4 separate regions of the Homo sapiens genome follow, and regions 1, 3 and 4 are each linked to region 2. Evidence: promoter capture Hi-C in 16 types of primary human blood cells and fetal thymus (Javierre and others, 2016). All regions are on one chromosome and are shown on one strand. The core of a region is centred on a gene start or on the middle of the fragment in contact, and the rest is flanking DNA. Distances in the headings are between cores, read along the strand shown.

Evidence for each region. The method cuts DNA at HindIII sites, captures the fragments that hold promoters and counts their contacts. A CHiCAGO score of 5 or more calls a contact.
Region 1: a contact is called between a fragment that was not itself captured here and the fragment with the promoter of XPNPEP1 in region 2, in 3 of 17 cell types (total B cells, total CD8 T cells and naive CD4 T cells). The highest score is 6.0, in total B cells.
Region 3: a fragment that was not itself captured here is called in contact with the fragment with the promoter of XPNPEP1 in region 2 in 8 of 17 cell types (naive CD8 T cells, activated CD4 T cells, total B cells and 5 more); the score reaches 6.9 in naive CD8 T cells.
Region 4: a contact is called between a fragment that was not itself captured here and the fragment with the promoter of XPNPEP1 in region 2, in 5 of 17 cell types (activated CD4 T cells, total CD8 T cells, naive CD4 T cells and 2 more). The highest score is 6.2, in activated CD4 T cells.

The regions. Positions count from the first base shown.
Region 1 is chr10:110,232,114-110,238,498 of GRCh38, forward strand. The region is part of intron 2 of MXI1 (MAX interactor 1, dimerization protein); the gene reads left to right. Among named protein-coding and RNA genes, the nearest start is that of MXI1, 28 kb to the left of the region's middle. The HindIII fragment of the contact is 1,218 bases long and covers 2,070-3,287 here.
Region 2 is chr10:109,920,555-109,926,215 of GRCh38, forward strand. XPNPEP1 (X-prolyl aminopeptidase 1) reads right to left here and starts at 2,957. Exons shown (of 21, transcript NM_020383.4): 1 at 2,848-2,957. The coding sequence starts at 2,879. RefSeq lists a silencer at 2,633-3,172. The HindIII fragment of the contact is 9,615 bases long and covers 1-3,364 here.
Region 3 is chr10:110,281,826-110,287,642 of GRCh38, forward strand. MXI1 (MAX interactor 1, dimerization protein) reads left to right here. Exons shown (of 6, transcript NM_130439.3): 6 at 2,999-5,540. The coding sequence ends at 3,162. Among named protein-coding and RNA genes, the nearest start is that of SMNDC1, 20 kb to the right of the region's middle. RefSeq lists an enhancer at 3,560-4,061. The HindIII fragment of the contact is 1,220 bases long and covers 2,891-4,110 here.
Region 4 is chr10:110,255,881-110,262,363 of GRCh38, forward strand. All of the region lies in intron 3 of MXI1 (MAX interactor 1, dimerization protein), which reads left to right. Among named protein-coding and RNA genes, the nearest start is that of SMNDC1, 46 kb to the right of the region's middle. The HindIII fragment of the contact is 3,245 bases long and covers 1-2,980 here.

The DNA of each region.
Region 1 (6,385 bases), core at 1,429-3,928, 310 kb after region 2:
CCATGCCCGGCTAATTTTTTGTATTTTTAGTAGAGACAGGGTTTCACTGTGTTAGCCAGGATGGTCTCAATCTCCTGACCTCATGAACCGCCCGGCTTGGCCTCCCAAAGTGCTGGGATTACAGGTGTGACCCACCGCACTTGGCCAGTTCTTATGAATTACATTGGCCAGCCTTCTTTTGATTCCTTCAGTACGCGTTTTCTTCTACCTCAAGATCTTTGCATACTTTCTGTTCCCTGCAGGGAATCATTTTCCCTCCCCCTTTGTTATCTCTGTTGAATAACACTCTTCTTCAGCTCAATCATAAGTTCCTCAGGAATGTTTCCTCATCTGCCGTAGTAGATCAGGTCTTCACATACTTCATGGCACCCCTATTTTTCCTTCATAGTGTTCATCACATTTGTAGAAATACAGTTATCCAGTTGTTTCTTAAATTCGTGTCCTATTCACTGGATTAAAAACCCTGCGAGGCGGGCAGGGATTGAGTCTCTTCTGCTTAAACATTTATCCCTAGTACTTATCACAGTGCCCCGTAAATAGTATGTGTTTCTTAAAGAATGGAAGGTTTTCAAACTCCAAGCAGACTGTCTTAAATTGAATTTCTTTTTTGTGCTGAGTACCATATTAGACTGGAAGGAAGAGTGATAAAACCCCTGTTTTGGCAAACTCTGATTACTTTGTGTTCCAAGGGATGTTAATGATACATTTGGAAAAACAGCATGTAGTATTTAAAGAATAAAAATCTCTAAACTGTCAATTCTTTTAAACAAGCAGGCTACAGAATGCTACACTTAATTTTGAAGAACATTCAGTGTCATCCTGTGTCATGAAAATAAAATAATACCAAACTTGCATATTGAAAGAAACAGAAGTCTTTCAGATATTGGCAATAAATATTCATATGAGCCTGTGACACACACATAGTAATTGCATTGTTTTAAGGTAATCTGGGAAGTAGTAAATAGCCAATTTATGCTTTAATTTCAAGTTGATATATTTCTTCTCTTTAGTGTCCTATGGATACTAAAGAATCTCATAAAAGCAGTATCTCAGTTCCACTTTCTAAGATTGAGGACACTAAAAAACAACTTTTCTGTTGTTTATAAGGCTTTAGTTTAATTTTTCTTAAACTGTAGAATAAAGAAATGCTTTAGTCTTATTTTAGATAGAATTATTGTATTGTTATTTTTTAGCTTTGCATCCTTTTCAGCTATCTTCATGGATTTTTAGTTTTTCTGGGGAGAGGGATGGTGGTGAATTATTTTCCTAGGATAGTTTCAAAGGATTTTTTCCAGTAGTAATTTGAGATGCTTTATCTTCTCTTTATTCTACGTGAACCTATTTGTTCACAGAAGAATTGAATGAAGCCTTATTTTTATTTTTGTGTAATTTTTTTCTACTATTCTGTGTTTTTCAAATTTTTTTATATTAAAAAGTAGTTTCTGGGTCTTTGTTCCGTAGAAAACTCCCAAAGTTTCAGGACAAAAATGTAGATTAGTAGCAGTTAAACTCTTAATGATGTTGTTATTATTCTTAAGTATTTTCTGCATTTTGAGTGATTAACACATCCAGTGAAATGTGTTTTGTGATAGTCTGTCTTCTACCAAAATTGACTTAAATGAAAAATTCCCAAGAATTACTTATATGCCTTATACTAAAAAAACTGAGGCTTTCCTTTAAATGCTTCTTTGAAGTGTAAGTTTGCTATTGCTGGGTTTCTTAAGGTTATATTCCTCTATGGAAGTATTGAAGGAAACTTGTATGATCATGCCTTGTAAGTCAGTAGGACAGCTGTTTCTGTTCCTAGTCGATGAAAGGCATTTTTGTCAAAATATTGAATATATGATGTAGAAGATCACAAAATGTAGAAAGGGAATTCTTTAGTACAATTCTCTGATTTATGAAGACAAAATATTATCACTCATTTTATGATTAAAGCACATGTGGCTTAGAGATGGTGATTGCTTAAGCCTTACAGCTGTAGATGATGGTTGACTTTATTGTCAAGCTGGATTTTAAGCAATATATGCATCATTGTTATAATCAGGCAGTACTGTTGACTGGAAGAAAGCTTTCTCTTCTAGATTTCTCCTTGCAAATGAAAGAACATTGCCTGCTTTTGAATATAGCATGATTCTTTGTCATTTCTTCAGTAAGGACAGTTTTCTAGATACTAATCTAATCAAAGAGGCTTGATGGTATGCTTTGACAGAGTGTATTTCCAGGTCCCATTTTTAGTGTGATTGTATAGTGCTGATGAAATATAAACATGCATTTTTTGTTAGATTGTTTTTTTGTTTTGGTTTCCTACATTTTAAAACACAGTCAGTGGTACCATAATTAACAGCATTACCCATAATATCAAACCTATTTTTTTGAAGTTGCTCCTAACTTTTATATTATTATTAATATACTCAGCTCCTCCCCATAGATGCAGGTGTTATACATCTATGGTACCACTCGTTTTTCCCCCAACAGTTATTTACTGAATGTTTATTTCATGCCTGACTCTTAAAATGATTACCTTTGGAAGTCAGATGAGTTAGGAAATTGCTGATATTTTCTGTACTTTTAAAGGTTTTTTAGAATATTGCTCTGTAATAGAATTTGTTGTTAACAAATGAAGTAGTCTAGATAATTAGTTGTTTACCTTAATGTGTTTTTTAACTTCGAGAATATGTTTAAGAGCAATTATTTTAACCTTCAAAATTCTCTGTAGTTTCTAGTGTTGCTGCCTTACCTAAGAAATATTATTTTACAAACAATATTTAACTTTAGAATGTATAAGATGCTTCTTAATTTCTGCTGCTACCAGGTGAACTAGTTATTTTAAATTCTTAACATTTTATAAAGGTAATATATGTATATAGTTTAAAAAGTCAATTAATACTAAATAGCTTATAAAGGAAAATAACATCCCCATGCCCCACCTCTCTCCATCCAATTTCTGCTTCTTAGAGACTACCACTTCCGATAATTTCACAGCTTCTTCTGTTGTTTGCTTTCATATTTCTAAATGAGAAGCGTTTCTTGCTATAGAAGATGAGAATTTGACTGTCATACTCTTTGACTAACAGCAGATTAATATGCCAGAAATGAAGATTTTTAAAAAGTACATGAGAGCAAATATTCTCCAAAGGAATGATGTTTCCAAATGAGATACTTTGTAGTACTGTTTATTATTAATCACCTACAGAAAAACATTGATATTTTACTCTCATCTCTGAGTACTTTATGGTAAATTATTGCCTCAGTTTCATGATGAGGTTTATTAGTTAAAAAAAATAAGCTTGGCCGGGCACAGTGGCTTACACCTGTAATCTCAGCACTTTGGGAGGCTGAGGCCAGCAGATCATGAGGTCAGGAGATCGAGACCATCCTGGCTAACATGGGGAAACCCTGTCTCTACTAAAAATACAAAAAAATTAGCCAGGCATGGTGGCGGGTGCCTGTAGTCCCAGCTACTCGGGAGGCTGAGGCAGGAGAATGGTGTGAACCCAAGAGGCAGAGCTTGCAGTGAGCCAAGATTGCACCACTGCACTCCAGCCTGGGTGACAGAGCAAGACTCTGTCTCAAAAAATAAATAAATAAATAAATAAATAAATAAGCTCTATTGGCCGGGTGTGGTGGCTTATGCCTGTGTTCCCAACACTTTGGGAGGCCGAGGCAGGCGGATCATGAGGTCAGGAGTTCTAGACCAGCCTGACCAAAATGGTGAAGCCCGTCTCTACTAAAACACAAAAATTAGCCAGGCATGGTGGCACACGCCAGTAATCCCAGCTACTTGGGAGGCTGAAGCAGGAGAATCACTTGAACCCGGATAGTGGAGTCTACAGTGAGTTGAGATCATGCTACTGCACTCCAGCCTGGGCAACAGAGTGAGACTCCATCTCAAAAAAAATTTTTTTCTCTATTTTCTTCTAGCAGTTTATAATATTAGGTTTTACATTTAGATTTAAAATTCATTTAGAGTTAATTTTTGTAGAGGGTGTGAAGTAAAGGTTGAAGTTCTTTTTTTTTTTTTTTTTTTTTTTTTTTTTTTTTTTTTTTGCAAATGGACATCCAGTTGTTCCAGTATCATTTGTTGAAAAGACTATACTTTATTCATTAAATGGCCTTGGCACCTTTGTGAAAATCAGTTGACCACAGACTTGTGAGCCTTATTTCTGGATTTTCTGTTCTGATCCTTTGATCTAAATATTCATCCTTATTCTAATGCCACACTGTCTTAATTATTATAGTTTTTCAAAAAGTTATGAAATCAGGTAATGAATGTATTCCGACTTGGTTCTTCTTTTTCAAAAGTTCCTTTGGCTATTCTAGGTCTTTTGCATTTTTATTTTAATTAATTTATTTTTTTGAGACAGGGTTTCACTCTTTCACCCAGGCTGGAGTGCAGTGGCATGATCATGGCCCACTGCAGCCTTAACCTTCTCGGGCTCAGGTGATTCTCCCATCGCAGCCTCCTGAGTGAGGAGCTGGGACTACAGGTGTGCACTCCCACACTCTGCTAATTTTTATATTTTTTGTAGAGATAGGCTTTCACCATGTTGCCCAGGCTGGTCTTGAACTCCTGGGCTCATGCAGTCCTGCCACCTCTACCTTCCAAAGTGTTGGGATTACAGGCGTGAGCCACTGTGCGTGGCCTGCATTTTTACATAAATTTTAGAATCAGTTTGTCAGTTTCTACAACAGAGCCTGCTGGAATTTTTATTGGGATTGCACTGGATCTATAAATTAATTTGGGGAAACCCAACATGTATTAACTATTGAATCTTCTAATTCATTAACATGAATTAATAGACATGGTATGTCTATTACTTAGATATTTTCAAATTTCAGCAGTATTTTTTAGGTTTTCAGAGTATGGGTCATACACATACTTTATTAAATTTTTCCTTAAGTATTCTTTGATGCTATTTTAAATAGCAATTAAATTTGGCATTTTGGTTTTGTGAACTGACTTCGCTAAACTTAATTGTTCTAATAGTCTGTATATTCCTTAGGATTTTCTAAATAGACAGTAATGTTGTTTGCAAGTAAAGACATTTTTATTTCTTCCATTTCCTTCTGTGTATTTCCTTTTCTTGTTTTATTTCACTGGCTAGAACCTCTAGTACAGTGCTGGATAGAAGTGATGAGAGTGGACATTCTTGCCCTGTTCCTGATCTTATGAAAAAATGCATTCTTTGACCATTGAGTGTGACTATAGTTTTTCTTAGATGCCTTTTAGGTTGAGTAAATTCCCTTCTTCCCTTATTTGCTAAGAGTTTTTATCATGAATGGATGGTAAATTTTATTTAAATGCTTTTTCTACATCTATTTAGGTGATACTGTCATTTTCTTTTTTATTCTGTTAATATGGAGGATTACATTGATGGATTTTTGAGTCTTAAACCTGCATTCCTGAAATAAATCCTACTTATTCATGTTGTATTTTGTACTGTTGCAGTACTGATACTAACAACACAGAGCTAAAACAAACTTCACAGGTTTGAGGATTTAGTCCCCAACATGTCTGCCCTCGCTACAGATGCCAGCCATAAGTTCAGGAGTCCTCAGGCCACTCTCACATCTGACCAACTGGCTGCAAATTCAGAGGTTCCTACAGCCCCTTCAGGTTTGATAATTTGCTGGAACTACTTATAACTCAGGAAAGTGCTACACTTTGTCTGTGTTTAGAGACAGAGTCTCAACTGTCACCCGGAGTAGAGTGCAGTGGTGAGATCAAAGCCCACTGCAACCTCAATCTCCTGGGCTCAAGGCAGTCCTTCTGCCTCAGCCTCTCAAGTAGCTAGGAGTACAGGCATGCGCTACAATGTCCAGCTGTTATGCTTATAATTGCAAGTTTTATTATAAATGATACAGATCAGGACCAGCCAAATGCCCAGACACAGAGAGAGAGGTCTGGGAGGAACCTGGACACAGAGCCTCTGTGCTTTTTCCATGGAATCAGGATGCATTACTCTCCTGGCACATTTATGTGTTTACCAACCATGAAACTCACCCAAGTTTCAGGTTCCAGAGTTTTTATTGGGATATTATTACATAAGCATGATTGATTGAATCATTGGTTATATGGTTGTCAATTCCCAGTACTTCTCTCCCCTGTGTTGGGCCACAATCAGTGACTCAAAGCCCCAACCCTCTAATCACATGGTTGGTCTTTCTGATGTGACCATCCCCTATCCTGAGTTATCTCTCCTTGGCATAAACTCAGGTGTAGTCCGAAGACCCACTATGAATAATGAAGACACACCTAATTACTCAGAAAATTTCAAGGTTTTAGAAGCTCTGTCCCAGGAACTAGGGTACTTTCTGTATATTATTGGGTTCAATTTGGCAAAATTTTGTTAGAATTTTTGTGTCTGTGTTCATGAGAGAT
Region 2 (5,661 bases), core at 1,707-4,206:
GAGACAGGGTCTTGCTGTGTCACTCAGGCTGGAGTGCAGTGGCACAATCTTAGCTTATGGCAGCCTCAAACTCCTAAGCTCAAGCAATTCTCCTGCCTCAATCTCCCAAGGACCTAGGACTACAGGTATGTGCCATCACACCAACCTGATTTTTTTTTTTTAATAATTTTCTGAAGAGACAGGATCTCACCACATTGCCCAGTCTGGTCTCAAACTCCTGGCCTCAAGTGATCCTCCCACCTCAGCCTCCCAAAGTGCTGGGACTATAGGTGTGAGCCACCGTGCCTAGCCAAGGTTACCTTAAGGTAATCCTATTCATTCATTTTACAGAATAAAAAAACAAAGATAACTTACCATAGGCCATATAACTCAGTAGCCGCAAAGCCAAGACCAGAAACTAGGTCTGACAGGTGAGCTCAAACTCTCTGTGTGAGCATCAACACCTCCACCTTTCTGTCAGGATCACAGGAGCTACGAAGCAGCTCAATACTACAGCTGCTCTGTTCTTGTCGTATCTTGGTCTCCGCAGAGTCCAAGATCTATCCACCTTTCACTTGTTTGGACAGATAAAATTCTTAAGTTCTCTGTCAAAGCACAATTATCATTAAATATTAAGAACTAGAAGAATATACCTCAGGGACTATCCAACTCAATTCCCTCCTCTAGACCAGGAAACCAAGAAACAAAGATCAAATGACTGGCTCAAGGCCTCACAGCTAACTGCTGACAGAGCTAGAACCAGCGTTCCAGCCTCCCAACATCCAGCTCAGTGCTCCTACCCTTCCCAGAACTTCTTCGACCTACACCTTCTCAACTTCATGATGAGCCACAAAGTGGGTAAGGGGCAAGAAGCATGCAGAGCACTTTCAATCTTTGTATAAGATGGTTATGGTAGCACTAGAAAAGGCCTTCTCCCTCTTTTTCCAAGAAATTCTGGCAGGGTTCTGAATACCTCACCCCCCTGCAACCCCCAGTTCATGGGAATCACACATGTGTAGCGTTCAGCATGGGGCAAAACAAGGAACAAGATGCTCAATCACACCTAGTGGATGAGACAAGGGTAAACTGGAACAAGTTCTAAGGTTGGGAAGTAAGCAATGTTGTCTTTGTCTACCCAGAATCCATCCCTCCTTTTGATGGGAACCTTGGTTTTCCTTTTGAGAATGTACCCTCTCCATTTCAGCCCAAGGGGTTCAAAGCAGTCTTATCCAAACACCTAACAGGCTCTGGGACCCAAAGCAGGTCAATCCCTCCCTCTGGCCATAATGATTGGTTCACAGATGAACATGAGAATTAAGGCAGCCCAGTGAGCATCAGATCAGGGACTTCTGCTCCATTAGGAAGGAGGGCTCAACTTCTCTGCTGGGGCTGTCAGCCTAGAACTGTCATAACCTGCCATAAGGAGAAAGTCTCCCTGAGAATGAAGCGGATACTGAATAAATCAGAGCCAAGAGATGATAAAGAGAAGTCTGAAGCCAATGTTGGTGGTGCTCCCGGATTCAGCCACACTAGAAGCCAGCTCAACCCCATTTTAGGTAAATCAATTTGAGTTCAGTTTCCATTACCGAAACTGAAAGAAGTGCTCACTTTTACAAGGAATGGCACTCAAATTCTACCAGTAGGGGAGGCGCCTGTGGAAAATGGCTTCCCCTCTCTCAGCCTTTCACTGGACTTTCCTTTGAGGTAAAAAAGACTCTACCAGCTGGTGTAGAAAAGACTCTTCTGCTCCTAAAAGGCTGTGAGTCTATAAATCTAGCACAGATCACCTTGGCCCCCTAAAGACCACCTGAGGCCTACAGCCTAACTCATCATTATCCACTTGCCTGACTCCATTTCCAGCACTTCACTTACAGGAAGCTCCTTCCAGATGGAAGTTCTCCACCCCTCCCACATACTTCCACAGGGTGGGTCTGGTTTTCTGCTCACCCTTAACAAGCTGTGGCAACGGCAAATCCAGGTCAAGGTAGGTTTGGGACCCCCCTACTCACAAACACAAGCAGGAGCCATGGTCTGTGTTCAGCAAGAAAGCCTGGCCATGCTGCAAAGTGAGTGCATTCATGTCTCAAGTGGTTAGCAGGTGGGTGACCCCTTGGGGATGGCCAGGGAGTCTGGCCTGTGGCCTCCATGAACTCTGAACACCTCTCTCCGTCTCCCACTTTGTCAGAGGCTCTGATAAGTACATCCTGGTTATGGCAGGGGAATAAACTAAAACATGTTTAACTTGAGGCCGGGAAATTATCTGTCTCACCCTCCTATGCCCAAGGAGAGCCCAGGGCAGGCTACTGGGGGGATTTTCCTGGAGATTATACCAAAATATTCCCTTACACAGCCTCTGAAACCATTTGGGTAGGGAGGGGCCCGCGACCGTCTATCCTTGTGGCGGTGACAGATCAGTAGAGTGAATTGCAGGAGTCAGTATTGTCGAGATTGTAACTTGAGGTTTAGATTCCTGGGTAACAGAAGCGAGGGCAAAGGCTCGCCCACCTCCCCGGACACGAAGAGGGGCCAACTTCCTCCAAGAACGGGGCCTTCCCGCGGGCCAGGAACTGTGACGGCCGCCGCCCCCTCAGGCCGAGTGCAGCAGTTCCGCGGGCATACGCGTCCAGGAACCAGACTCGGGCCGCCCCGTGCCCACCGACCCTCCGGAAACGAACCGGATCTCGCCCGGCCTCATGGACCCCTTCCCCCGGCTCCTGTTCCGGGGCTCCGGCGAGCGCGGCCCTCGCCAGACTGCGGCGGGCCGGGCTCCTCACCCGCGCGTCCCTGCCCGCCGAGGTGCAACACGCGCGGCCGCGCAGCGAGGGCTGCACGCTGCCCGGACGCCGGCTGCCGGCGGAGTGCCCTCACCTTACTCGCGGTGGCTTTCTGGAGGCTGCCATTCGGCGGTGACGTGCCCCAGCCCACGTCAGGGGAGCGCAGACCAGCTGATCACCCGCGGAAGGGCCGGCGCGAAGGAGGCGCGAGAGCCGGCGGGCGGGCGGGCGGGCTAGCGCCGGGTCGGCCACGCCCTCGCCCGTGGCGGGCGCTGGCGCCGCGGCCCCGCCCACACGCAGGCCCCGCCCACACTCCCGGACCTGGGGTTCGCGGCCGCAGCGCCTGCGGCCCAGAGCGGGGCCTGCCCTTCCACACCAGTCCGCATTGCCTCTCCCTGCAGCGAGCGGGGAAAGGACGCAGTGCTGCTGAGTGTCTTCATTTTTGTTCGTTTTTGTCGTCATTCCTCAAAGAGGAAAAAGGGCTTTGCCGAATAAAGGGGCTACTGTCCCAGGGATTTTCCGGCTTAATTTAGGAGGGCTGAGAAGAGAGGGACGTGGCCGGCTCCGGAAGAACCTCGACAGGGTCTTCGAGGCTTTGGAACAGGGTCTCAAGCTTTAGAAATGTCCCCAAAAGTATGTTCCCAGAGAGCTTCAAAATCCAGCTCTCCGCTCCGCTTGGATAGTAAATAGCCCCTTCAAACTTAACGTCCAAACGGAACTCCTGGAACTCCCAATGCACCGAAGCAAAGCAAAAACGTTCTCCACCAGTCTTCTTTGCCATCTCAATCAATGGCTACTCTATTCTTAAGAGGCAAAATTTAGGAATCCTCCCTGCCTCTTCTCTTTCACACCCCACATCTAATCTGCCAGCAAAATCTTGTTGGCCCTGCCTCCAAAATAGACCCCTAATCTGGCCGTGTCACACCACCTCCACCTCCTACCCTCTGATGTGCATCAGAGGGTTGTACCACCCCACCCGTGTGGTTACAGCAGCCCCCCAAATATCCCCTCACCATCCCGCACCTGCACAGTCCAGCCTGAACAAAGCCGCCAGACCAGTCCTTTGAAGCGTGACACCAGGTCACTTCTTTGCTCAGCACTTTCCATTAATTTCTCGTTTCACGCAGCATAAAAGCTCCATTTGATCTACCCCCAGCCACATTTCCTCCTGTTCTCACCTTCCTCACTCTTCTTCAGCTGAAATGGCCTCCTGGCTCTCCTTGAAAAAGCAGGGTACACTCATGTCCCAGGGCTTTTGGACTTGCTCATCCCCCAAATATTGAGGCTCCCTTCCTCATTTTCCTTCAAGTCTTCGTTCAAGTATCACCTACCCTGACCATCCTATTTAAATTTGTAAATCATTCCAATATTCCTAATCCGCCTTACCCTACTTCATTTTTTCCATAGCACTTACCACCTTTTAACAGGATTCTTTTAATGTACTTATGTGTACTGTATTCTTCCCCCTCTCCTGCCACCACCCACGCACACAACAAAACCATCAGTGCAGATTGTTTCTGTTTTGTTTAATGATGAACAATATCTAACATGTCATAAGTTCTCATTATATATTTTCTGCAGAAATGAATGTTTCAGAATGTGCACTCCTCAAAAGCAGGGATGGTGGCTCTCTTGTTCATTGTTATTTCCCTGGTGCTTAGAACAACACCTGGCACTAAATGAAAGTGACCACATTTTTTTAAAGGTGAATGGCACCTCCTCCTGCTTTGACCTTGGTGTAAGGCCTAATATACCTGTATCAGCTAGGTTCTGCTACCTGCAAGAACTCAAAGTCGTTATTGAATAAGCATTTAGGCAAGCCGAATTAGACTGTGTAGTTAAAGCATGAAAAAACTAAAGATGTGCTTCCTGGGAAAGCAGCACACATCTGTTGCATTTCCCCAAATTTATGAAGCCAAAAACAGAGAGATTGTAAATAAAATACTGGTTCCAGCCCACATCTGAAAGCTGGTGGGAAAAATCAAGTTATAAGAGAAAACGAGATAAGAGAGAGAGAGATAAGTGAAACTTAAGGGGGACAGGTATTTAATAATCACATTGCCTAAAAGAAAAGGAGTTGGCTCAGAATTTACGGCATCCAGCTTCAGGGGAGAGAGAGAAATACCTTGCATTCCCTGAGCTGGATTTGAGTTCCTGTTTGCAAGATAAAAAAAGGAACCCTTTCCCCTCTTGAAGTTTTTTTGTTTGTTTGTTTTTTGAGATGGAGTTTTGCTCTTTTTGCCCAGGCTGGAGTACAATGGCACAATCTCAGCTCACTGCAACCTCTGCCTCCCGGCTTCAAGCAATTCTCCTGCCTCAGCCTCCTAAGTAGGTGGGATTACAGGCATGCGCCACCACACCCGGCTAATTTTTTGTATTTAGTAGAGACGGAGTTTCACCATGTTGGTCAGGCTGGTCTTGAACTCCTTGGCCTCGACCTTCCAAAGTGCTGGGATTACAGGCATGACCCACTGTGCCCGGCCTCGCTCTTGAAGTTCTAACAAGAGAACCTCTGGAGAAGTTATAGCACTGAATTACCATGAGAGAATGAGAACACCAGGAGTTATATAGGTTCTTCTCCTGGCTCTACAGTCCTTGCATCCTCAAAGAAGTGGAACAGTCACACTGCCTGACATTCATTGAAGGCTATGTGTCTAACCCACAACAAACCAATGGGTGAAGGACTCTTATCCTCATTTTACTGGTTGAGGAGACTGAAATTTGCAGAGGTTAAGCCCCTTGCCCAAAGTCCCTGAGCTAGTAAGTGGTGGTACTGTAACATACATTCAGACAGCAGGATGGATTCCTAGCCCTGACACTTAATCGCGAAGTTATCTGGAAGGGACCCTAGAGGTGGCCTCATCCAGTCTCCTAGCCCACACAGCAGAAAGAGGGAGACAGCTGGTTT
Region 3 (5,817 bases), core at 2,251-4,750, 360 kb after region 2:
GTATTGTGTGTAGTTGTTGTTGCACTTTTAATATTAATCAATAGGTTCAGGTAAGGTCATTTTAATACATTTATATAAATGTATAGCCTTTAACTTAACAGTTTTAGCAATTATTGCCCTTATTTCATTGGGTGTCATAAAATAGTGATTTTCTAATTGTGTCATTCCTCTTGTATTTATAAACTGTTTTTCTCCTATAAACATTTTCTCATCAACTTTTCGGTTATCCTGAAATAAAGTTCATACAGGGAAGGTGGGATAAATGCTTGGTCTTGGTTTTTGCTTTATCAGTTTTCCAAACAGAGTTGGTAACCTAGCAGCTTCCAGAAGTAACAAGTTTTGGTTTTACTATTTTTTGATTATATCATGAACTCATGTTTTGCTGTACTGAATGTGTTCCAATCCATTGCAGTCATCCTTTTAAATTCTTTTGAATGCTCAAACTGTCCCAGATTTGCTGAGTAGGAGCCTTTTAAATAGTTTTTTCATCCTTTTTAACGCAACCTTTTTAACACAACCCTAGGAGTTCTTGTTTTTCTGTTTTGTTATTTTTCTATGTAAAAGTTTATTTTTGTGTGGCAGTTTTCAAGAAAAGTCTACCAGAGGCAGTAGCAAGAACCTGAAGTACATGCTACATTTATCAGTAACAGTGAAATATAGCAGAAATAACCCTGACCTTGGTGTCCCAGTCTTTCCTCTATTGCTAACTAGCGGAAACCTCTTCTTAGGTCTTTAGGTTTTAGCTGTCCTTCCTGTTACCTCCTCCTTGTACCCACCCCAACTACCTCCAAATTTCAGAGAGGAGGGTGTATTTTCATCACTATAGCTCTCATTTTTTTTTAGTGTTCCCAGTGTACCTTACTTTAGCGGTACCTTACCAAGTACCATCCTTATCCTGAGCTGGCAACCTCCTTTTTGTAGTGTTATGGGGGCTTTTAGTTAACATCTGTGGTACACTTGGCTAAAGCAGTTTCTCATTTTACTTTGTTTTTTTGGGTTTTTAAAAAATTTTTTTAAACATATTTTTAAATTTTATTAAAATAGAGATGGGCCTTGTTGCCCAAGTGGTCTCAAACTCCTGGGCTCAAGCAATCCTCCTGCCTTGGCTTCCCAAAGTGCTGGGATTATAGGTGTGAGCCACTGTGTTGGCCATCATTTTACTTTATTTTGACTGAGTTCAGCATGCTCTTTTGGATAGTGTGCCTTGTTATTATCTTCTAGTTGTAGGTTGGATGAGTGTTCAGTGGTGCTGGGAAACAATGGCTTCTGAAGCAATTCGGATATAGAGCCAATATATGAATTCACAGATTATTTGGACAGCTGCCTACATTTTAAAAACATCTCTAGAATCTCTAAAACTTTTGAAGCAACAAGCCCTTTTGAAAAGTATATTCCTGGAAATAGCTTCACCCTGTCCTTTTGGCCTCACAAGAATCCACTTTTTTTTTTTTTTTGAGAGAGAGTGTCTCGCTCTGTCGCCTAGGCTGGAGTGCAGTGGCGTGATCTTGGCTCACTGCAACCTCTGCCTCCTAAGTTCAAGTGTTTCTGCTGCGTCAGCCTCCCAAGTAGCTGGGACTATAGGCGCGTGCCACCATGCCCAGCTAATTTTTCTATTTTTAGCCTAGACACGGGGTTTCACCATATTGGTCAGGCTGGTCTTGAACTCCTGACCTCGTGATCCACCTGCCTCAGCCTCCCAAAGTGCTTGGCCGCACCCGGCTGAATCCACTTTTTTTTTTTTTTTAAAGCAGTTGTGATTAGTGTGAACCCTTAAAAAGTCAGTGCCAAATGTGAAACATCAGGCTTTGAATTTAAGTAAGGTAACTGAAAAATCCTGGGTTTCACTCTAGCTCTGATGGGAGAAAACAACTTTTTAACTCCTTTTTGTTTTTAACATGTGTATTGATTTATGTATATTATTGATGATTGAATATCTAGTATTTAACAATTAAGATTTTTTTTTTTATTTTTAAGAGACAGGGTCTCACTCTGTCACACAGGCTGAAGTGCAGTGGTGAGACCTTGGCACACTGCAGCCTCAACCTCCTGGGCTCAAGAGTGATCCTCCCACCTTGGCCTCCCGAGTAGCTGGGACTACTGGATCACCCACTATACCCAGCTAATTTTTGTGTTGTTGTGTTTTTTTTGGTAGAAATGAGGTCTCACTTTGTTACCCAGGCTTGTCTCAAACTCCTGCACTCAAGTGATCTTCCTGCCTTAGCCTCCCAAAGTGCTGGGATTACGGACGTGAGCCACTGCGTCCAGCAACATTATCTATTGATAGCTGAGTCAAATATGTATTTGTGGTGTTTTTTTTTTTTAATGTTTGGCTTTTAAGTCTGTATACTACCACCAAAATGGATCTCACTATAATCTGAAGACTTTTAAGTCTCAGGCCCTTATTTCAAGCTATATTTGATGCAAGAAAATTAAATCTAAGACATATACCTCAAACTCTACTTTATAATGACTTGTTTGACTGACTAGTTGAAGATCTTTATGATGAATCCTAGAAGTCTGTTGAACTATCTGTAGAATGGCACCACCAAAGGCTTGGATGGGTAAATTTTCTAGTTTGCCTATATTAAGTTTATGCTCCTGCCCACCCTTTAAGGCAACCCTGATTAATAAACAGAACTGAGAATTAGTTTGTGGTTTAATGCAAAACAGATGTTTTTAAACCACTTGGGGGTTGGGACCTTTTAATATTAAGCACTAATTCCCAAATACGCCAAGTGCTTTAGGGAGGTCCAGACGGACTGGCGTCAAAGGATTTAGGAAATTTGCTGCCTAAATTAAGACCACCACTGTATATCAGACATTCCCCTTGGCAAAAAATATTCCTGTCTCTTCACCTTGTTCCTCTGTTCTCCAGACATCACTGATAATAAGCTTGTTGTGTAACATTTCTTATACCTCTTTTCCTCATGCTGTTAGTTTTTGAAGGTGCGCTATACTCGATAATTAATGTTCTTCTTTTTTTTTTTTCCTTTGGCAGAGGAGATTGAAGTGGATGTTGAAAGCACAGAGTTCTCCCATGGAGAAGTGGACAATATAAGTACCACCAGCATCAGTGACATTGATGACCACAGCAGCCTGCCGAGTATTGGGAGTGACGAGGGTTACTCCAGTGCCAGTGTCAAACTTTCATTCACTTCATAGAACCCAGCATGACATAACAGTGCAGGGCAAAATATTCACTGGGCCAATTCAATACAAACAATCTCTTAAATTGGGTTCATGATGCAGTCTCCTCTTTAAAACAAAACAAAACAAAACAAAACTATACTTGAACAAAAGGGTCAGAGGACCTGTATTTAAGCAAATACTTAGCAAAAAGTGGGGCAGAGCCTCCCAAGGAGAACAAATATTCAGAATATTCATATTGGAAAAATCACAATTTTTAATGGCAGCAGAAAACTTGTGTGAAATTTTCTTGATTTGAGTTGATTGAGAAGAGGACATTGGAGATGCCATCCTCTTTCTCTTTTCTAGTTTGCTCATACTACATTGAGTAGACACATTTAAGGATGGGGTTATGAACCCTTCCTGAGCTTTATGGTCCTAAAAGCAAAATAAAAACTATTCGAATGAAAAGACAAGAAAATCAGGTATTAATCTTGGATAGCTAATAATGAGCTATTAAAACTCAGCCTGGGACAGTTTATCATGAAGCCTGTGGATGATCAATCCTTTATTATTATTTTTTTTTTTTGAAAAAAGCTCATTTCATGCTCTGCAAAAGGAGAGACTCCCATGAAGCCTTTTGAAAGGGATCATCATGCAGCTCAACTTTCTGTTGGATTCCATGCTAAGCAAGCTAACCTTATCCTGCATTGTTAGCACTAGGCACCCAGCTGCCACCTCTCCATCCTGCTGCCCTTAGGCCACATGGGAGCAGTCCATGCATGACAGCCTCTATCCTACAAGGCCTATGAGTATGGATTGGGGGGGCCAAAAGGAAAAAGCTCCATGTGCCTCTTTGTCTGCGTGGGTCAGAAGAGTTGTGCACGCAGATTAGCAGGCCAAGGTCTGAGCCACAGCAGCATTTTTATTTCAGATTTTGATAACTGTTTATATGTGTTGAAAACCAAAATGACATCTTTTTAAAGCTTATCCATAAAAAAAAATAGATGTCTTTTATAGTGGAAAAACACATGGGGAAAAAAATCATCTATTTTGATGCAGCATTTGATAATGATAAAACACCTCACACCTCACTCTTTATAGTGCACAAAATGAATGAGGTCTGGGCTAGGTAGAAAAAGGGTCAATGCTATTTTTGTTTTTAGAATCATTACCTTTTACCAGCTTTTAACCATCTGATATCTATAGTAGACACACTATCATAGTTAACATAGTAAGTTCAGCACTTGTCTCATTTTAATGTAAAGATTTGCTTCCATTTTCCTACAGGCAGTCTCTCTCTTCCTCACAGTCCCACTGTGCAGGTGCTATTGTTACTCTTACGAATATTTTCAGTAATGTTATTTTCTTCTAAGTGAAATTTCTAGCCTGCACTTTGATGTCATGTGTTCCCTTTGTCTTTCAAACTCCAAGGTTCCCTTGTGGCCCTCTCCCTTACCCTGGGAAGGCCTCTTGGAGACCTTACCCCTGGCTGTTTGGACTTTGTATACTTTAAATAATTTAACTACCCTTAATTACTTAAAAAAAAAAAAAAGCTTTATGATTTTCATAACTTATTGCTGATTTTAATGGATTGTTAATTTCAGTCCTGTAGTTTTATTTTATGTTTAGATAGGGCTGGGCAAGGAAAAAGAAAATAAAGACAACCATATTTAGCAGTGCAGTTGAGTTGTGTGTTAATGTTAGACTATCCCTTTGTGAGTGACACTTTAACAGCATTCACTGCTTCTATATATAGTGTACCATCTTGGTCATACATTACGCCTCAACATATACTTGTGCTCTTCCTTTGCCTCCAGAAGAAGTTTTTCCTTGATTGTGCTATGTTTCAGTGGAAGAAATTCTTTGAAGTAGATGTGAGTGAAAAACTGCATGCCTTTAGAAGCCCAGTATCAGAACTTGCTACGTTTCAGGTGCTAGGGACTTAATGAAAAACAGGACAAAACAATTCCTTTTTGTGGCCCAGGTAAATTATTTCTGGTTTCACTTATAATTACTAATGGCTGAGTCAAGATGTTGTCTCTGTGTTTGCTTACTCTTGATCAAGTGTGAGACAGTTTGAAGACTGTGCTACCATACAAAGTGAATGAAGCCAGTGACTAAGCTTCTGTTTGTTTTGTTATTCTCATGGCCTTCGCTTGCATTATTTGGGCCTTCATTCAGATGAACTTGAGGTGCCATTTTGTTGCATATGTACAGGATTATGGGCTGGAAAGCATTTGTTATAAACCTATAGTGCACATTTTAACTGCCCCCTAAATTACCCTTCCCTGGGTTTGTTTTCCTTGGGGTGGTGTAGATTGTATGAGTAAGAAGTATTAATTTTTTAAAAGACAAATCAACTTTGAAGACACAAAAGTTAATTGGAAGAAATAAAAACTGTGAACGAAGAATACCTTTCTTTTTGTACCATCCTTCTTTATGAAGGCAAAAACATGAATGGGTATCCACACCTTAAGAGGTAACTATCTCCTAAATGTCTGTTGATACCAAATCAGTATCAATGCCAAATCAAATGGCAGTTTGAATTATAATTGCCATTCCTGTTCTGCAATTTAAACAGGAGCCTGACTGGTAACTCCATATAACCTAACTGCATGTGGTTTAATGTGCCACATTAATAATAATATTAACTGCCTCAGGTAGGACACAAAGCCATTCTCATGATCT
Region 4 (6,483 bases), core at 108-2,607, 330 kb after region 2:
TAAAGTTGGAGAGCTTGCATTTCCTGATTTCAAATCTCACTATAAAACTATAGTAATCAAGGCAGTATGGAACTGACCAAAGAACAGACTTACTGATTAGTGGAATAGAGTTGAGCGTGTAGAAATAATTTCTCACATTTATGGTCAACTAATTTTTAGCAAGGATCACAAGACAATGTAATGTATTTTCAACAAATAGAGCGGACACAACTGGATACCTACATACAAAATAATGAGGTTGGATCCCTACCTCACACCATACACAAAACTCAAAATGGATCATAGACCTGAATTTTTTAAGAGCTAAAACAATAAAATTCTTAGAATAAAACATAAGTGTAAATCTTTATGATGTTGCATTAGGCATTGGTTTTTTACATATGACACCAAAAACACAACCAACAAAAGAAAAAAATAGACACATTAGAATTTATCAAAGTGAGCTGGGCATGGTGGCTCATGCCTGTAATCCCAGCACTTTGGGAGGCTGAGGTGGGCGGATCACCTGAGGTTGGGAGTTCAAGACCAGCCTGACTAACATGGAGAAACCCCATCGCTACTAAAAATACAAAATTAGCCGGGCATGGTGGTGCATGCCTGTAATCCCAGCTACTCGGGAGGCTGAGGCAGGAGAATCACTTGAACCAAGGCAGCAGAGGTTGCAGTGAGCTGACATTGTGCCACTGCACTCCAACCTAGGCAATAGAGTGAGACTCTGTCTCAAAAAAAAAAAAAAAAAAAAAAAAAAAGAAATGGCCAATATACATGTGAAATGCTTAATATCAGTAGTCATTAGGGAAATGTGAATCAAAACTATAAGATACCACTTCACAGTTACTAAGATGACCATCTAGGGTTGCTCACCAACTTTGTAGTCATCCATTCATCATACCAGTTACCACTGATCAGAGAAAGGTCTTGAAAAGTCCACTGAGTTTGCAGTTTGGCACTTAAAAACTGATAATGTCATCATCAGCTGATGGCACTGCACAGATGGCTCAACACTTTGCAATTACTTAAGACATGTAATTAACCACAGGTAAGTTTTCAATATATTATGTGGTGCCAGTATGTAATGTGGTATGAGTATTTAATAATGGAGAAAGATTAGTCTCTATTTAGCATATGAAAAGAATATACCTTTCTTTCAGCTGGAATTACCGTCTTCCAGTAATTTACCAAAATAACAAACATAAAGGGAAAGAGGAAAGACTCCTGATATACGTTCTCTGGGTTTCTTAGAAAACATGGAATTGTTCCTTTGGCCACAGACATGCGATTCTACAAAAAAGATGATATTGTAGATATCAAAGGAATGGGTACTGTTCAAAAAGAAATGTCCACAAATGTTACCATGGCAAAATTGGAAGACTGCGAGCATGCTATTAGCATTGTTGTACACAAACAAGTTAAGGGCAAGTTTTTTTTTTGGTTTTTTTTTTTTTTGAGACGGAGTCTCGCTTTGTTGCCCTGGCTGGAGTGCAATGGCGCGATCTTGGCTCACTGCAACCTTTGTCTCCCGGGTTCAAGTGATTCTCCTACTTCAACCTCCCAAGTAGCTGGGATTACAGGCACCCACCACCACACCTGGCAATTTTCTTTCTATTTTTAGTAGAGATGGGGTTTTGCCATATAGGCCAAACTGGTCTCAAACTCCTGACCTGAAGTGATCCACCCGCTTTGGCCTCCCAGAGTGCTGGGATTACAGGCATGAGCCACTGCGAAGGGCAAGATTCTTGCCAAGAGAATTAACATGTGTATTGAGCATATTTTTTAAGCACTCTAAGAACTGAGGTAGCTTCATGAAATGCATGAAGGAAAATGATCAGAAAAATAAGCCAAAGAGAAAGGTTTCTGGGTTCAGCTGAAGCACCAGCCTGCTCTATCCAGAGACGCGTACTTTATAAGAACCAGTGGAAAGATGCCTGAGCTGCTGGAACCTATTCCCTGTGAATTCATGGCATAATAGGTGTTTAAAAAACAAACAAACAAACAAAAAACAAAAACCCTCTGGAAAAAAAAATAAGGGGGGAGGTATAGGTTTTAAGGATTTCTAATTAACAATGAAATCTAACAAAATTAAGACTAGATATTGAAAGAATTTACTAGTTTTATAAATTTCATTTAACAAAATTAAGACTAGATATTGAAAGAATTTACTAGTTTTATAAATTTCATTTAAGATGTAACAGAATATAACTTGATTATATTTGTTATGCCTTGAACAACAAAATTAAGAAGTATAGTTGTGGAGGAAAGGAAAAACAACATTGTCCAGTGATCAGGAAGTAGCTACTGATCCAGTTTTCTGGATTTTATTTCTGGCAAATAAAAATGGTGGTTACTTCCCATTTTTAGCCTAAAGGTAGAAAATTGATACCCATACTTTTAATTATTGCAAAAGTCCTGAAGAAGATAATTATATTCTTTGTACTTTTTTAGACAGTAGGAGTCCAGTTGCAGGGCTGAATTATAGAGGGTTACTGTAGAACACTTATGTCTTGGAAAGTAGGGGCCACTCATTTAATTGAATTTTCTTATGAAACTCTTAGAAAGTAGGTGACACTCATTTACTTGAATTTTCTTAGGAACCGGATAAATATGTAAATTAACATTATCAAACAGTATGAAGAACAGTATCATTTATCAGAGAGCTATATAATTCATGTATTTCTTTTTGTATGCAAGTAAATGAATATTTTAACTGTAATTTCTATAGGGATAGGAATACTGAAAACTGTAGACCAACTAAAAATAGTTGTCAGAGGGCAGAGATAGGCACCTGTTAGAGTTAGAATTGAATGCTATATGAGATAAAGATGAAGTAATGTGCAGGTTTTAGAGATAAAATAGAGGAAATGTAGCCAGGATAAAATTACACATCTAAAATGCAGTCTGTACAATGAAGTCATTGCAGTTGTGTCTAGATAGATTCACAGTTTCTATACTGACCTTTGTTAGAAATAGTTCATTAAGACTAAGCTTTCTTCTCCCTGACCTAGGTTACATATACAGCAAGGTGACAGAGGCTCATTCGGAGACAAAGACTGAATTGTAGGAACCAAGTGTTTTTAGTACTTCAGCTAGCCAGTTATTAAAGTTTAAAGCAATTCTACAACTGATGTGTGGGAAGAAATGAGATTATGAGATCTTAAAAAATAATCAGAAGTACTGTAACTTGAAATTCAGCTTCTAAAATTTTGTATAGAAATAAACAAATAAGTCAGACATTGAATAATTGACATGGTATATTATAGCGAAGTTGTGGTAGCTTTTTATGCAAGTGATTGCAGAGTGCCTAACTTAAGCTGTAACTTGTTTAAGAAAACAATTCTTCTCAAACTATGAATTTGTAATTTAAAAAAACAACAGGAAGAGTTTAATTAATAGATTTTCTTGAGATATTTTAGATGATGCAATGTAAACAAATTTATTTTATATGCAGCTTTGAGGAATGTGTTTGATTCATAAACTGACTATACCTTTAGTACTGATGCTTGTAATAATTACACAGGAGAATCCTACTAGACTTTAAGGCAATATGTTATTTTGCTAAATTCTTTTGCTGCATATTGTAAAGGAATTTGTCCATTGTAAATGCTGTGATAAATATTGAAAATTGAATAGTAAGCACAATTCAAATACTTTTTCTTAAACTAGAATCTTCTTCATTTAAAGATAATTTCTATTCTGGTACAAATTTTGGCAATTAAAGCATGCCAAGAGGAAAATCAGTAAAAAATGTCTTTTTATTAGATGAGAGACTTTGTTAGTATCTTGCATTTATATTCTAAAAATGAAGAGATTCAGATATTTTGATATATTTTAGCTGTTTTGAGGAAGAGGATAATTCTTTACTTCTTGCTTATCTTTTTCTACTTATTCTAGTAAATAATGTCAATCCCATGACAGTGAAAGTCCCGTAAGTGTTACTAGTGAAAAACTTTAGGTCTAAACTAGGATTCAGTAATGACAACAGAATTTCCTAATCTGATTACTAGCTAACCAGTTCTTTAAGACGAATTTGTTTGGAAAATAATTAATCAGCACTATGACAAACACATGACATAGTGCTTATACTCACATCTTCTAAATCAAGAAAAGTTGGAACTTAACTCATAAGTAAATGACTTCCTTGTTTTGTTGTTATTTTGGGAAAAGCCAATGGAGAAAGATAGGTTTTAATACTAAACATGATTTTGGAGCCAAATTGTCAAAAATGATACCCAGAATCCAACACAGATGGCCCTTGGGAGATATGTAATGCATTGACATGAGTATCGTACCAGAAGTCAGAAGACATAATTTTTCCTTTCATCTCTACTACTGATAGGTTGTGAATGTTGTATAAGTTAAACCACTTCTTGGAGTCTTGCTTTTCTTGGCTATTAAAGGAGGATCTCTAGATGATCTTAGAAATCCCTGCCTACATGTAAAGTTTTGTACAGTTTTGTGAATTTTTGAGTTAAGTAATTATTGGCATATTAGAAACTTAGTTGTTACTCTGCTGTTTCTGAAGCATTTTCCTTGATACAGGTGTGTGTGTGTGTGTGTGTGTGTGTGTGTGTGTGTGTGTGTATACGCCCACAGATATATACATATATATAACACTTGAGACACACACACACACACATGAAATGAAAGACCAGCAGGAAAAATCAGCTTAGAATCTCACTTCATTTAAAATTTGGTACTTTGTAAATATCTAAAGATTATTATAATACATGGTACTGTAGCTATAATAAGGTTTTAATTTATAATGAAGAACTTTGATAAGTAGTAAATATTTATATAAGACTAGAATTTGCCCTAAGAAACATATATTTGTGTGTATACTACAAACACATTCCTCAAAGCTGTGTGTACACATACACACACTCATATGGATAGATATAGATACAAATTCTGAAATTTAAATGCTCAGGAACATTCAGGACCCTGTCCCTTTTGGAAAACTACTTACCACTGACTTCTAAGGAAATGTAGTTAATCTGGTAAGCATTATTGTGTTATAACTTCTGGCCACTTTTTTGTATTCTCTGACAAGTTTATATTTGCTCAGGCTCCAGAAATCTGGTTTTGTGGTTGTAACTGTATTATATTGTTGTATCTCATCAGTCACTTTAATAGGCTCCAGTGATCACTGGATGGAGTGAGCCATATACCAGGAGGAAAGAGCACACTGCTCTTACACAAAACAAGGAGCACAGCTTAGCTCATCTAAAATATTTGTCTATAAACAATCTGAAGAGAAAGTAGCTACAGGTCAGTATGTTGGAATCTTTCTTCCTAACCATTTAGACAATAAAAGTAGCTTTTAAATAATGTCCTCACTGCTTTGATAATCTGCCAAGCCCCATTCCTAATTCTAGGACATGTCTACTGTTTATTTTTTTTGCTTGCAGAGTTGCTAAGCGTTGGAAATGAGAGCTGTGCTGACTGGGTCCACTAGATAGTTATGCTGTGTTTAATTGCAGCCTTCTATGGATTGGCCATTTTCACTTCTCATTGTCCCCCTGTAGCATTTATCATAATGACTATTCAAACCATTTTTTTTTTTTTTTTAACCCCTCCAAGAGAGTGTGAGGCAAAAGCCAAAGCTCTAGAGGTCATCAAATCATATTGTGGTTTACAGACAGGACCTTAGTTCCTCTAAAATTACGTGATAGAGATGAATGATCTTTAAGATTTCTTCTAGACTAAAAATTTCTGCTATTTGAAGTACCCAATCCCACTTTTTACTCTTAGATCTAGTTTTTGAATCAATGGCTAGGACCCATATCTCCCATCTCCTAGTCTAAAGATATTTCCAGTATACCATTGTGACTCTTCATTTCTCCCTTTGCTGAAAATATGGATGCCTGGTCTGAGCTTTTTCATCTTCTCCTATATTTTCTACCTTTATAACTTCAGCTCAGATTGACTATATACTCCCCCTGCCTTGTGAACTTCTACTCATGTACAGATAGGCATGAACAAGAATAACAAAAGTGTTTATAATAAAAATTAGAAGTAACATGAATTTCTGTTAACAGGGGAATGACTAAATAAATGATGATACATCCATACCATGTAGCAAGTAAAAAGAATGATGTAGATGTGTATATGTGTATGTGGAGAGATTTCCAAGACATATTAAATGAAAATAAGCAAATTGCAAAATGGCATTTCAATATGATCTCATTTATGTTAAAAAATAACAAAGCAAAATCACATACAGTTGGCTCTTGTATCTGTGAACTCCACATCCATGGATTCAAACGACTATGGATTGAAAATATTTGGGGGGAAAATTGCATCTATGCTAAACATATACAGACTTTTTCCCTGTGTCCTTATTCCCTAAACAATACAATATAACAACTATTTACATGGTATTCACATTGTAGTGAGTATTATAAGTAATCTAGAGATGATTTAAGGTATAGAGGAGGATGTACATAGGTTATATGCAAATATTACACCATTTTATATCAGGGACTT